4 separate regions of the Homo sapiens genome follow, and regions 2, 3 and 4 are each linked to region 1. The links are contacts of gene promoters, found by promoter capture Hi-C in blood cells and fetal thymus (Javierre and others, 2016). All regions are on one chromosome and are shown on one strand. Each heading gives the region's core, a stretch centred on a gene start or on the middle of the fragment in contact. The rest is flanking DNA. Distances are from core to core; before and after follow the strand shown.

Region 1 (2,926 bases), core at 285-2,784:
GCTGGAGTAATATATTCCTTTCCATCGAGTGTATGAACTACTTCTAGCTGTTTCTGAGCAATCAATTTATTAACAATCTCAATGCAGTTCCGCTCGGACAACCTGAGGGAAAGAAAAAAAGTTGTTTCAAAAGTCCACTTGAGACATTGGCGCTCAATAAAATTAATACAATGTATGAAAACAGGCTTTTAAAAAGTTTGTTTAGTCACTAACTTCTACATCACAATATCTGTATTTTTCACTAACTGATTCAATAAGTTAAAAAAAAACCTTTCAGAGTAAGTAGGTTTACATATGCTTAAATCATTTATTTAATTGGTACACATCATCCCATCACAAATTTCAAGTCTGTTGTCTCTTACAGGCCTGCTTCCAATCTTCAAATCTGAAGGGAAAATTGAAGACATTTATTTAGGTAGGAAAAAAGAAAAAACAAAACAAAACAAAACAAAAAATGCCCTAATTTCCAGTTTAATCAGAATTTTCTTTTAAATTAAGTGCATAATTGCCTCACTTACACACATGGTCTGCAAGCAGGCAGGGGATGTGGCCTAGTGAAACCATAACTTTTACCCACGTTAGTTACCCATGCAGTTACGAGTTTGCTATCAGTGGTAGAAAATACAGCATAAGGGGATTGCTGTCTTCCGGCTCAAAAGGAATAAAACATCGCAGGTAGGAAGTAGTCAAAGAATAGAAAGGCTTCTATTAGCGTTATTTTTAAAAAGCAGAGTTAGGCTCCTCTGGACACATCCTCCAAAGGTTAGTGGGCTTGTAGAAAATGTCAGTGCCCTGAATAACAGATGGGGTCAGGGGTCTAGCCCTAGGTCTGTTACGAGAGATAAAAGGGCAAGAAGTTTTAAGGATCAACATACTATTTGCCAAGTACTGTACTGGGGGCGGGGGTTAGCCTCTCCTTTCGAGCTCATTCTAGATCAGGAAGTGTATAATAGCCAAGATGTCACAGTGATTTGGTGGTTGGTGGGTGAGGGAGGGTCAAAGAAATGCTCAATAAAGGCAGCTCGAAATCACCGGCCCCGTCCATGGTGGGGCGGGGCGCGCCAGCATTTCGCTGCAGCTGGGCTGGGGGGCTCCAGGGCGTCCTAGGCTGAGGACTTTCCCGCCGAGCCTTGGACTTGGAACTGCGATCCAGGCTCGGGACAGAGGGAGGAGGAGAGAATGGTGACAAGCAGCGAGAAGACCCGGGATGCAGGGCCGCGGGTCTAAAGTCCCAGATACAGGCGTGTCCGCCCACGGCCTAATTTGGGCTCCACAAAGGAGAGGGAGGGTCGGGCACCTCTGCGTGGCCTCGGCGAACTGCGCCCGCTGGAAGTCGGCCGCCAACCGCCTAATCTCTTCCCAGGCGTCCGCCATCACGGCCTGACTCGCAGTAGACGCGGAGGAACTGCAGACACGTCAGCCGACAGGCGGTGGGAGAAGAGAGGCGGAACGGGCCGCGCAGAGGGACAAGAGGCTCCGCCCCCGACGCAGACACACCAAACGCTTGCGCCCGAGGCGCGGGGGGCGGGCGGAAGTGCCGTGGTTGTACCGCGGCGCTGGGGGTTCCTCCCGGCGAGACTGGCGGGGCTGCGGCGGCTAGGAGAGTGGTGCGTAGGTGTTTCTGGGGGGGTCGTGGGCAGGATGCAGGGCTCAGTAAAGTTTAGTGTCAGAACTTTGTTTGCGCTACCCCTAATATTTCCGTAGAGTAATAGTTGTATTAACTACTTTTCTTTTTTCTTCTGTCCTCCATTTGTTTTGGGGGAGGGTGCGGAGGAATAAGCCTGTGTCTAAGATTGGCGCCTCTCTTCTCTAGCTGTTAACTCTGAGCATTCCCTTTTGTATAGGGTATCGTGTTAATTTTTACATGCACCCAGAGCAGTCTGCCTTTTGGAAGATACATGGGAGACCCTACCGAAAGTAATTACTTTTTTTTTACAGAGTGAATAAATTTGCGTGTCATAAAGGCTGTATAATTGCTTTCGTGTCTAGAGTTCTAGAGTCTTTCGTATTTCTCTTATTGCAATGATTAACTTCATCAAATAATGAGGAATATAAACATAAGGTGCATGGCTATCAAGGAAACAGGGAAAGCAAAGAGAACATGTATCCTGCTTCCCTGTTGAGTAGATATTTACTCAGGTGTACCTTTCTTTTTTATATCTTTTTTATATCTTATGAATTGAAAATAAATCATGGGACCCCCAAATCACTAAGCTAAAGGGAAAAGTCATACTGGGAACTGCTTAGGGAATCCTGCCTCCCATTCTATTCAAAGTCACCCCTCTGCTCACTGAGATAAATGCATGTCTGATTGCCTCATTTGGAGAGGCTCATAAGAGAATGCAACTGTCTGTTATCTACCTATGACTTGGAACTTCCTCCCCACTTGGAGTTGCCCCGCTTTTCCAGATCAGACCAATGTTTATCTTACATATATTGATTGCTGCCCCATGTCTCCCTAAAATGTGTAAAACCAAGCTGTGCCCCAGCCACCTTGGGCGCATGTTGTCAGGATCTGTGCCATGTCATGGATGCAAGTTCTTAACTTTGGCTAAATAAACTTTCTGAGTTGATTGTGACCTGTCTCAGATATTTGGAGTTCATGTATCTCACTCTTTACTATTTAAAAAATATTATTCCAGTTAGAAAGAATGAATAATATCAAGTATTTGATAGCACAGCAGGGTGACTAGTTGTCAGAGGCGTTTGAACTAGAGCAACTCCATCTTGAATAGGGGCTGGGTAAAATAAGGCTGAAACCTACTGGGCTGCATTCCCAGGAGGTTAGTCACAGAGTGAGATAGAAGGTCCACAGGCAGGAAAAACAAGTCATAAAGACCTTGCCGATAAAACAGGTTGCAGTAGTGAAGCCAACCAAAACCCACCAGAAACCAAGATGATGAATACAGTGACCTCTGGTCGTCTT
Region 2 (2,926 bases), core at 184-2,683, 420 kb before region 1:
GATACCTTGAATTCATGCATGCCTCATAGGTAACATTTTAAATTATTTAAACACCAGTTAATATTACTGGTGTCAGCATGATCAGTAATTACCGTCTTAATAATCACAGGCATCTAATTCCAGTTGCTCCCATCTTTGATATAACGATGAGCAACAGCCTGGAGGACAAGAACTGACAGGGAACGAATACAGCTGGGGGTCAAATTAATGCTGGTGGTGAACTAGCTTTCAGTGAGAGGCACATGCTGAAAAATGAGACCACAGGTTGAGAAGGAATTAATGTCCTGAGAGTTTTGTACAAAATAAAATATTTTCTGAACATGAGAACAGCTTTTGAATCTAGATCTGAAGAAGCTGGCTAAATAAATCATACCTCCAACAACCTTCTTTTCAGTAATTATAAAAAGAATGCATCTGCACACTCGTTCCCCTGCCAGATATGACTTTTCCCTTCCCCAGATGGCTGGGGCAAGTGTCTGTGCATATGGCAAAAGAAAAAAGCAGGAAGCTCGAAGTGTTTAACTGGAAAAGGAAGCAGTGAAGGCTTATGAAATGTGTTTGTGCGAGGCACTACAGGGGCCGCAAAGCCAAAGAAGAGCAACCAGTAAAGACAAGACCTCGGAGACCTGGGTCCTGGTCCCGGCTCTGCTACTAAGGGTTTCACTGGCCAAGCCAGTTTGTTTCCCTGGGCTTCTGCTTTCTCATACAAAATGTGGAGGAATCCAATTAAATCAGTTTGTGGGATTTACAGCTGATGTGAAGTTATCCAACATTGGGGGTCAGCAGTAATAAGTAAAACAGGTGTCAGCCTGTGTGTGGGTGAGAAATCTCCTTGGTAGAACAGTATAAGGTTTTTTTTTTTTTTTTACTTCTTCTTGGAAATAGAAGTAAATATCATATTACCGCACAGGTCTTGTGTGAATGACACCAAGAGACCAACCCTTTAAGAGCTGGTTCTAGAGGAATATGAACTCTGCATTTACCATAAGCCAAATCCATTTTGAGGAAAAGAATAATGGCCCTATCACAGTCCTTTACCCCAGGATAGGTGGTTAGAATGTATGTGTGTATGTATAGGCATGTGTGTGTATGTATGTGTATATATGTGTGTGCATATGTGTCTATATGCTGGTATGTGTATATGTGTATATGTATGTGCATATATGTGTGTGTATGTACAGAGTGTGTGTGTGTGTGTGTGTGTGTGTGTGTGTGTAGAGGGAGCATGAACAATACATCTCATTTCTCTTTTCTCTTTTAGCCTACAGTCCCTCCTCTAAATCTCTAGCCCTGAATGCTTAATTTAATTTTTAACTGTGGCATGTGGGCAAGAGAGAGGTGAACAGGTTGCTACACATTACTCAGGCTTGATCGAAAGCCATTCTGCCGTAAGGAGTGATTCTCTGCAGAATGAGGACAATAAAAAACTAGAGATGGAGGTAGAAAGGGAGGTGGTGGCATCAGAATAACCTGGGGAAAGTCTTTTTCAATCTCTCTATGCTTTCTCCCCTCTCTCTTCTTCCTTGAGAATCAAATATGACCCTGAAGGGATATTCTGAATCACACACACACACACACACACACACACACACACACACCCCACAGCTGTAGCAAGTCACTGTTACTGATTTCCTGAAGTGGGATAAAAGATTGAGGATTTCAATGCTAATGTCCTTTCCAGCCTTAACACTTCAAGACATAGCTTCTATCATTCATATACTTTCAAATTAAGAAAACACACATAAGATAACCAGAGAACAACAAAAGGCAACTCTCCACAGCTAAATGGCAGATTAGATGAAGATGTCTAGAACAAGGGAAATTATTGCATGGTAGAGCTAATCAGGAATGGTTTCATGGAGGAAATGGGTATTGAGCACAGATGGCTTGATGCACAGATTTTGGACTGAGATTGAGGTGAAGAAGCATGTTGGGCATCTGGCAGGTGCGAGGTGGCAGCAGTAGCTGGAAAGGATGGTGAGGGGGACAGCAGTAGTACAGGGGCAGCACCAGTCTGGACTGACCCAGACAAGTGGGGCCAGCAGATCTTGGGCTGCAAAAGGCAGTGAAGCCTAAGCTAACAAACAGTGACTGTGGGGTAACCGCTGGCTGTAAAGCAGGAGAATGTTAGAGCAACACATGTGCTTCAGGGAACTCTTTCAGATCATGGCCCAAGATAGTTAAGAACAGAGGTTTCTAAAGGGGTTCCATAAACAGACCTTACCTAAGTTACTATATATACAGTACATATGCCAGTCTTTTTCTGCATTCTTTCTCTGAGACCATATTCATACATGCATTTTGCATAGGAATAAGGATCTGGACCATTTATTTGATTCTCAAAAAGTTATGGGACAACCACTTCCTGCACCTGACCCCTCATCCCAATTACACACAACAGAGAAAAAGTAAGAGGTCAGAGGAAAGTGTTCCAAATTGTTCTTGGGGGTCTTCTCATTGCTTAGATGGAAGAGATCAGTAAAGGACAAATCAGAGAAAAAAGGCAGCTATGTGACACCAACCCAGGTGATCCTTGTGCAGCAGGGAACCCCACAGAGGCTCCTGAGAGGATACTTTCTCAGGCTCACTTATTCAAGAGATAGCATAAGAGGGGCTTTCGTGGATTACGTGAAGTTGACTACAACATCTAGTCTTACCTTGATTGTTTTTTGGTCATCACATCATATCAAACCTCTTCTGCTTAATAATATCAATGCTTCTCAGAGCTATCATTTCATTTGACTAAAATGTAAGTCACTCAGAAAACTTATTTAAGAATTAAATCAGATTAAGTATGGCTAATTCTTAATGGGAATAACAACAGGTTTTTCAGAAAATACATGATAAGTAAGAATCATGATATCTCTTAAATTAAATATCAAAATGCATGTTTGTTTCACCACTTCCTAGAGAGAAGCCTTAGTAT
Region 3 (2,926 bases), core at 167-2,666, 360 kb before region 1:
GGGATGAAGATACAGCTAAAAAGGTTTTAAAGTAATGCACATATCTGCAGCAGTCTTGATTTACTTTCACTGATATGTCAGAGAGGATGGAGAAAGGAGATTAAGCTATTTTCCTCCTCCAGGACTCAAACTCCTCTCTTTCCCAGCAATCTAATTTTCCTTTTTCAAAATTCCAACTTCGTGTTTATTTTTTTCAATGTAGTATACAATTTAGCCGATCATTTATCCTTCCTCATTCATCATGTTGTATACTTAGCTTAATAAACATCTTATTCTCAGAAGGATTCCAGAAGAAACTGAAGTCACAGAGGCTCATTTCCTTGCTTTACCTCAGAACAACACAGTAATATTACCTAGATATTTCTATTTTTACCCTATAATGAGGACACTCAATCTAAAATTGCACACAGCCCTGAGCTGCTACATTTTTGGTTCACTTTAACCTGAATAAGGGCTTCAGAGTTTGCTGAAATCAGATTCATGCCATGCTTGTTTCAAGGCAGTACATGGCTTGTTACTCTCAGAATTCAATGTTTATTTCTCATTGTAATGAAAAAGGCCCTCTGGCTGTCTAACCAGCTGTAATTTCTCACTAATCCTGAATAAACATTTCAAACCATAATGAGTCAGTGTTGAATTTTATGAAGAAAATGGAATTAAGAGTCAGAGTAATTTATAGCTGTACTGGCCACCCATTAAAGTTTTTCAACAAATGTGGGTGAAGCAAAAAGATGTAAGGCAAAAAGATGACTGTGGTTTTAAAAAATGTGGAATAACAGCTGAAAAAGATTGATGTTACCCTACTAGACTCCTCTGTGAAAGAAACAGGCAAAACTTCTGTCCTTGCTGGTATGAGACCTCCTACTCCACGGTAAGAAAACCTGCCATAAAGATGAGGTTGGATCCCCCAAAGTGGGCCTACATTTTAACCTAGGAGCTGACCCCGCAGGATCCACCACGGCCCACACCCTCCAACCCTCGAAGATGATGGGTTTTAGCCTGGAAGGAGAGCAACCCACAGAAGGTGATCCCTGTATCAAAGAGGCCTGGGCCCACATGCTCTCTAACCTGCACTTCCTTTGAGACACAGATAATGGTACCTTGGTGAGTGAAACCAGAGCATCAGTAAATTAAGAGCTCTCCTAGGTGTTTTGAAAGATCCTTCTCTGTATCCAATCTTTAATGCCCAGGCATTTGCTTGGGTATTGTCTTCCTGAGTCTCATGAAGTTCCCTTTTTACCCCGTGAAATAACAGGATACATTTTTAAAAAATAATTAAATGACCATTCAACATTTGAGCCAAAAGGAGTCAAATAAAAAACTTAAGCTTTTGAACTTTCCACACTTTCAAAGCTCTAGCCTTGGGACCAGAAAATGGCTTTCTTTGTTTGAAATTGTACATTTGGCTTATTAGTAGAATTTTGAGAAAGATCAGGGAGCCTCAGTATGCTCAATGATGGCACAGGAAGTTGGGCTTCCACAAGAAAGGGGAAAAGAGAAGCTTGAAAATTCAGTTAGTAAGCATGGGTTCTGAAGTGCATGAAGTTTTTGCAAAACCTGAATGCAAAAGCATTCAGCATTACTCCTTGGAGCGGGCACGGTGCCACACATCTTCTGAGTTGCCAGTTTCTCTGGAGCTTCCGTGCTCTCTTAGAGGAGAGAAAATTATGCTTAATTTTATATTCACTGGTTGGATTTCTTAAACCACTTTAAATATCAGAGCAGCATTCTTAACATAAACAGAAATGTTGTTCGGAACTGATTATTTAAATGAGTTTTTCACTTTCACAGGCTGGAACTCTTTCAGGAGATTTTGTTTCCAAAAGAACTTTAGAAAATACTAGCATAGATGTTTCATTAAACTAAGATGTGATAAAGGCCGGAATCCTTCTAAAATTACCGATTATAAATCTTCAGAAAAACGGATGGCTTATACATATCGAATCTGTGCTTGAAAACATCATATTGCCAGAAGGCTGCGACTCAAATTCAGAGTAGAAAAAGAGATGCAAAATGTCTATCAGGAATGTTTAAAAATAATCAGGCTTTTTGGCAGAAAAGTAAAACTGGTCACTGAATTTTGGCTTCTCTAGTATACAACAATACCAACCTTAGATGCTGAAAAAAGACTCTTACAGAATGAATGGTTCCTAGCTAAAGAGAAATTCGATTGTTTTAAAATATACTGACATTTACATAATCTGTTTTGCTTAAAATGGCAGTGCCTTGTTTTAAAATAATGATGTTAGGCTCTTGAAAATGATTTGAATCTTGTATCTGAGGACACTATGATCATAAAATCTGACTCAATGAGGGAAGAAACATGTATCCTCATAGGCCCTACAGAGGAAAGCACCAGACTGACTCAAGTTTTTGCCTTATTTTTTCTCTTAACATTTTATAATGCAAGGGCATGTGTTTCAGGACACTTTTCAGCATCCCACTCCATGTATCTCTTTTTGGAAATTACAGCTGCCCCAGGGAGTGCTATTGTGGGTACCCCTGGAGGGAAGAAGGATTTTATGCAGCGTAAAAAAAGGAAAAACTCTATGTATATGTTTTTGATCTTGGTGTTTCCCTCTTTGACAGTAGATTGGTCTTTTATATTTCTGTATTTCATTAATATAGAACACAGAGAAATTGATCAGTAAATGATATTTATTTATTTATTTGAGTTGGAGTCTTGCTGTGTCACCCAGGCTGGAGTGCAGTGGTGCCATCTCAACTCACTGCAACCTCCGCCTCCTGGATTCAAGCGATTCTCCTGCCTCATCCTCCTGAGTAGCTGGGATTACAGGAGCCCGCCACCACACCCAGCTAATTTTTGTACTTTTTAGTAGAGATGGGGTTTCACCATATTGGCCAGGTTGGTCTCGAACCCCTGACCTTGTGATCTGCCTGCCTTGACCTCCCAAAGTGCTGGGAT
Region 4 (2,926 bases), core at 329-2,828, 310 kb before region 1:
TAAATAAAAGAGTGCCTTGACGTATTTCTGGTATATGCGTTACGTACAATTTTGTGTGTGAAAAGTATACTACCAAGGCAGACGGGATAGTGTAGGAAACATATTGTTTGTAATGGGAAGTTTTCGAAGAAAATCATCCCAGAATAACCAGTAATACTGTAAAATTTTGTTTGGGATATAGATTTTTATCTCTAAGTACAGTTTTGTCACTTTGCTGTAAAGTATACCAGTACCGAAACTCAAAAAAAGAACCCACCATCTCAAGCATTTTCTGAAAATTTCAGCAAGCTGAACATTCTTGGAGAAAAATTTGCTTAGGAAAAATAAACATAACTAAAACCCCTATGTAGTTACTGTTTTACCTTAAGTTTGCTGGACTGCAAGCAAGAAAGTAAGAATTTAGTGTTCCTAAGTGGATGTGACTTAGTTCCTAGAGTTACTTGAGCACCTTGAGATTTTGTTTATGGTTTATTTAATTTGGGTTGATTGTTTTGTGAATGAGTATTTTGGAAATGATACACACAGAGGTGGATTTGTATATGTATATATCCATATCACACATATATCTATATTTATGTATCCATACTATATATAGTATAACTATATATACCATATCTGTATATGCTATTGAGTATATAAAAAACATGAAAACCATTTAGGGACCTAATAATACATGTGCACCAGGAACAGTAGGTCTAAAATATCAGCTAAAAATAGTTATTGCTAGGGCTTGTCATCTTTTCAGCATTTTAGTCAATATCAGTTAAGTTAAAAAGCACTGGTTTTCAGTATGTTCTCGAACTCTTAACAAGGCTTGGATCAGGGAACCATATCCTAACCACATTTATCTATTCAAATGGATTGAATTACCCTGCCAATGGATAATTGAACCAGGCATTTCTTAAGCTTCAATAGGCAAATTCTAGGTAAAATTTAGTTTGTCAATATAGTGTTTTCTTCTTTTAATACTTCAAAAATAACCTTTAGGACATTCTTCATAGATCTGGGATTTAGAGAGTAGACCTCAAAGGCATGAGAGGCAAACCTTGGGGAAGTTCTGGTACTCCAATTTGTGAAATGATGTCTTAAGCACTTGATTTGAGAGAGGGACCCATTAATGCTTGGAAAAACAATATGTATAAATACAGTGCTCCAGTTACTACAAGCAAAACTATTTCATTCACCTTTGTTATGTTTGTTACCACATTTCACAGCTGAAGCTGCTATATTTCAGCTTATGTATGAAAATTAGAAATGAAATGAAGTAATCTGTTAGGCGGTTTTTTTTTCTTTAATTTGCTAGCTGTTTACCAGAAATGTGTTTATATTTGCTGCAAATCACCTTTACTTTGTTGCAGGTGGCACTTTTTCCTTTTTTTTTTTGCAACTATGACATATGTATATTTAGGATGAGTTCTTAGTGTTTCCTTGAAGACACATGAATGAGTTTCACAGAGTTTATGTTGCATTTCTTCAACTTTCAAAACACAACATTTGAGATGTTTGACTACCAGCCTGAGATCATAGATCTTAAGAGCTGATGTGATCCTGGTCAGTTATAGTTTCAATTTCCGGGGAATTTTCTGTTTAAGGTTAGATGTGCCCTCAATTTGAACTAGATGATCCACAAAATTGGTACTTTTGCAACCACAAAACATGAGAACATTCCAAATGATTTGAAGTGTGGGCAGCCCAACATGCTTTAGGATTTGGTTGGCTTGAGGCGGTATGCCATGCTTGTAAAAATGGTTTCTGAAGCTGACAGCAAGCTGTTTCAGGCTTTAAGTTTGACACATAGGATAAAATGCATTCTAGCCTCTGCACCAGTAAATATGGACAAGATTTGTATCCACTTCTGTTTGTATGACAGAAGATTCAGAAAACTCAAGCGTGAAACTCTAGCTTAATACACAGGAAAGCTCATTCATGTTCATTATAAACATAATGAAGAGTTAGAAAAGTTGGATTTTAACACAGCTCTCGGGTCTTGGGGAATAGATGGTATATTTGCAGGTATGGGGGCAATCTAGTGGTCACCTATTGAAATTAATAATAGGGTTATTATTATCAGCATTTCCTTTGAGTGATATGCTAAAGAATTACATCTTCCCAGATACAATTTAGAAAAACCCCCAGCCAGATACTGTACCAATCACCTGGCATATATATTAATTGATTCTTAGATCATTTTCAAATTCTTAACATCATTTTCAATTTAAACCTTTATGTGTTATTATAGTTATAAGCTTTACATACCTTTTAGGGTTTTTGAGCAAAGCTTCTTGGTTAACTTCTTTCTCTCAATTGACTTAGCTCAGTCTATGTTATTAAAGCATTTGAAAAATATTTTAGGCAAATTCTTTTCTGTGGAAACTTCTAAGGATCTTCCTTGGGGAGGCTGGTGCAGAAGGGACATGATTCTGTATTCTAGCTGTTACCTTTCTCCTAAAATGAGGCATCTTTACATCTTCCTACTTTATACAATATAAAACAAAACAAAAACAAATGCGTAGGTAACTTTAGAGAGAGAACATTTGTAGGCATTTAAAGAAGCCTGAAGTTTAGATCAGAGTAAGAGTTTCAACTGAAAATTATTTGAGAATCAATTAAATCTATCCCATGTATTTGGTATGGTATTTGGTTGAGGCTGTCTGGTGCAGGATTTTTTGTTCAAGTTGATCCTGGGAGGATGTGGATACAAAGGGAGTTGGGGTGTAGGCATAACATCCATTGTCTTCAAGAGGGAAAAATGTTCAGGTAAGTGGGCTTTTGTAGTAAGATCCATTCTTTTCATCATTGTAACTTACTCCATTTCCCCTGTATTTGAAGCACACAGTCTTCCTACTCCATTTTGATTAACCCTGCATAAACCACGATACCTTCTAAAGTTTCACACTGTCTATCACTAGCAGAAAGTCTGTTCTCT

Evidence for each region. Contacts are between HindIII fragments. The CHiCAGO score rates a contact against its expected background, and 5 or more counts as called.
Region 2: a fragment that was not itself captured here is called in contact with the fragment with the promoter of UFL1-AS1 in region 1 in 3 of 17 cell types (non-activated CD4 T cells, total CD4 T cells and total B cells); the score reaches 7.7 in non-activated CD4 T cells.
Region 3: a fragment that was not itself captured here is called in contact with the fragment with the promoter of UFL1-AS1 in region 1 in 4 of 17 cell types (fetal thymus, naive CD4 T cells, activated CD4 T cells and 1 more); the score reaches 7.3 in fetal thymus.
Region 4: a fragment that was not itself captured here is called in contact with the fragment with the promoter of UFL1-AS1 in region 1 in 3 of 17 cell types (fetal thymus, non-activated CD4 T cells and activated CD4 T cells); the score reaches 7.0 in fetal thymus.

What each region holds. Positions count from the first base shown.
Region 1 is chr6:96,520,322-96,523,247 of GRCh38, reverse strand. It overlaps UFL1-AS1 (UFL1 antisense RNA 1), which reads left to right and starts at 1,534. Exons shown (of 4, transcript XR_007059687.1): 1 at 1,534-2,926. It overlaps UFL1 (UFM1 specific ligase 1), which reads right to left and starts at 1,442. Exons shown (of 19, transcript NM_015323.5): 1 at 1,298-1,442; 2 at 1-102. The coding sequence starts at 1,374. RefSeq lists enhancers at 110-981, 1,648-1,837, 982-1,853, 1,854-2,725, 2,726-2,926. The HindIII fragment of the contact is 5,811 bases long and covers 1-2,926 here.
Region 2 is chr6:96,941,327-96,944,252 of GRCh38, reverse strand. The region is part of intron 1 of KLHL32 (kelch like family member 32); the gene reads right to left. Among named protein-coding and RNA genes, the nearest start is that of KLHL32, 18 kb to the right of the region's middle. The HindIII fragment of the contact is 6,637 bases long and covers 1-2,926 here.
Region 3 is chr6:96,876,021-96,878,946 of GRCh38, reverse strand. No RefSeq gene overlaps it. Among named protein-coding and RNA genes, the nearest start is that of NDUFAF4, 20 kb to the left of the region's middle. The HindIII fragment of the contact is 174 bases long and covers 1,330-1,503 here.
Region 4 is chr6:96,833,025-96,835,950 of GRCh38, reverse strand. The region is part of intron 1 of GPR63 (G protein-coupled receptor 63); the gene reads left to right. Among named protein-coding and RNA genes, the nearest start is that of GPR63, 3.0 kb to the left of the region's middle. The HindIII fragment of the contact is 1,340 bases long and covers 909-2,248 here.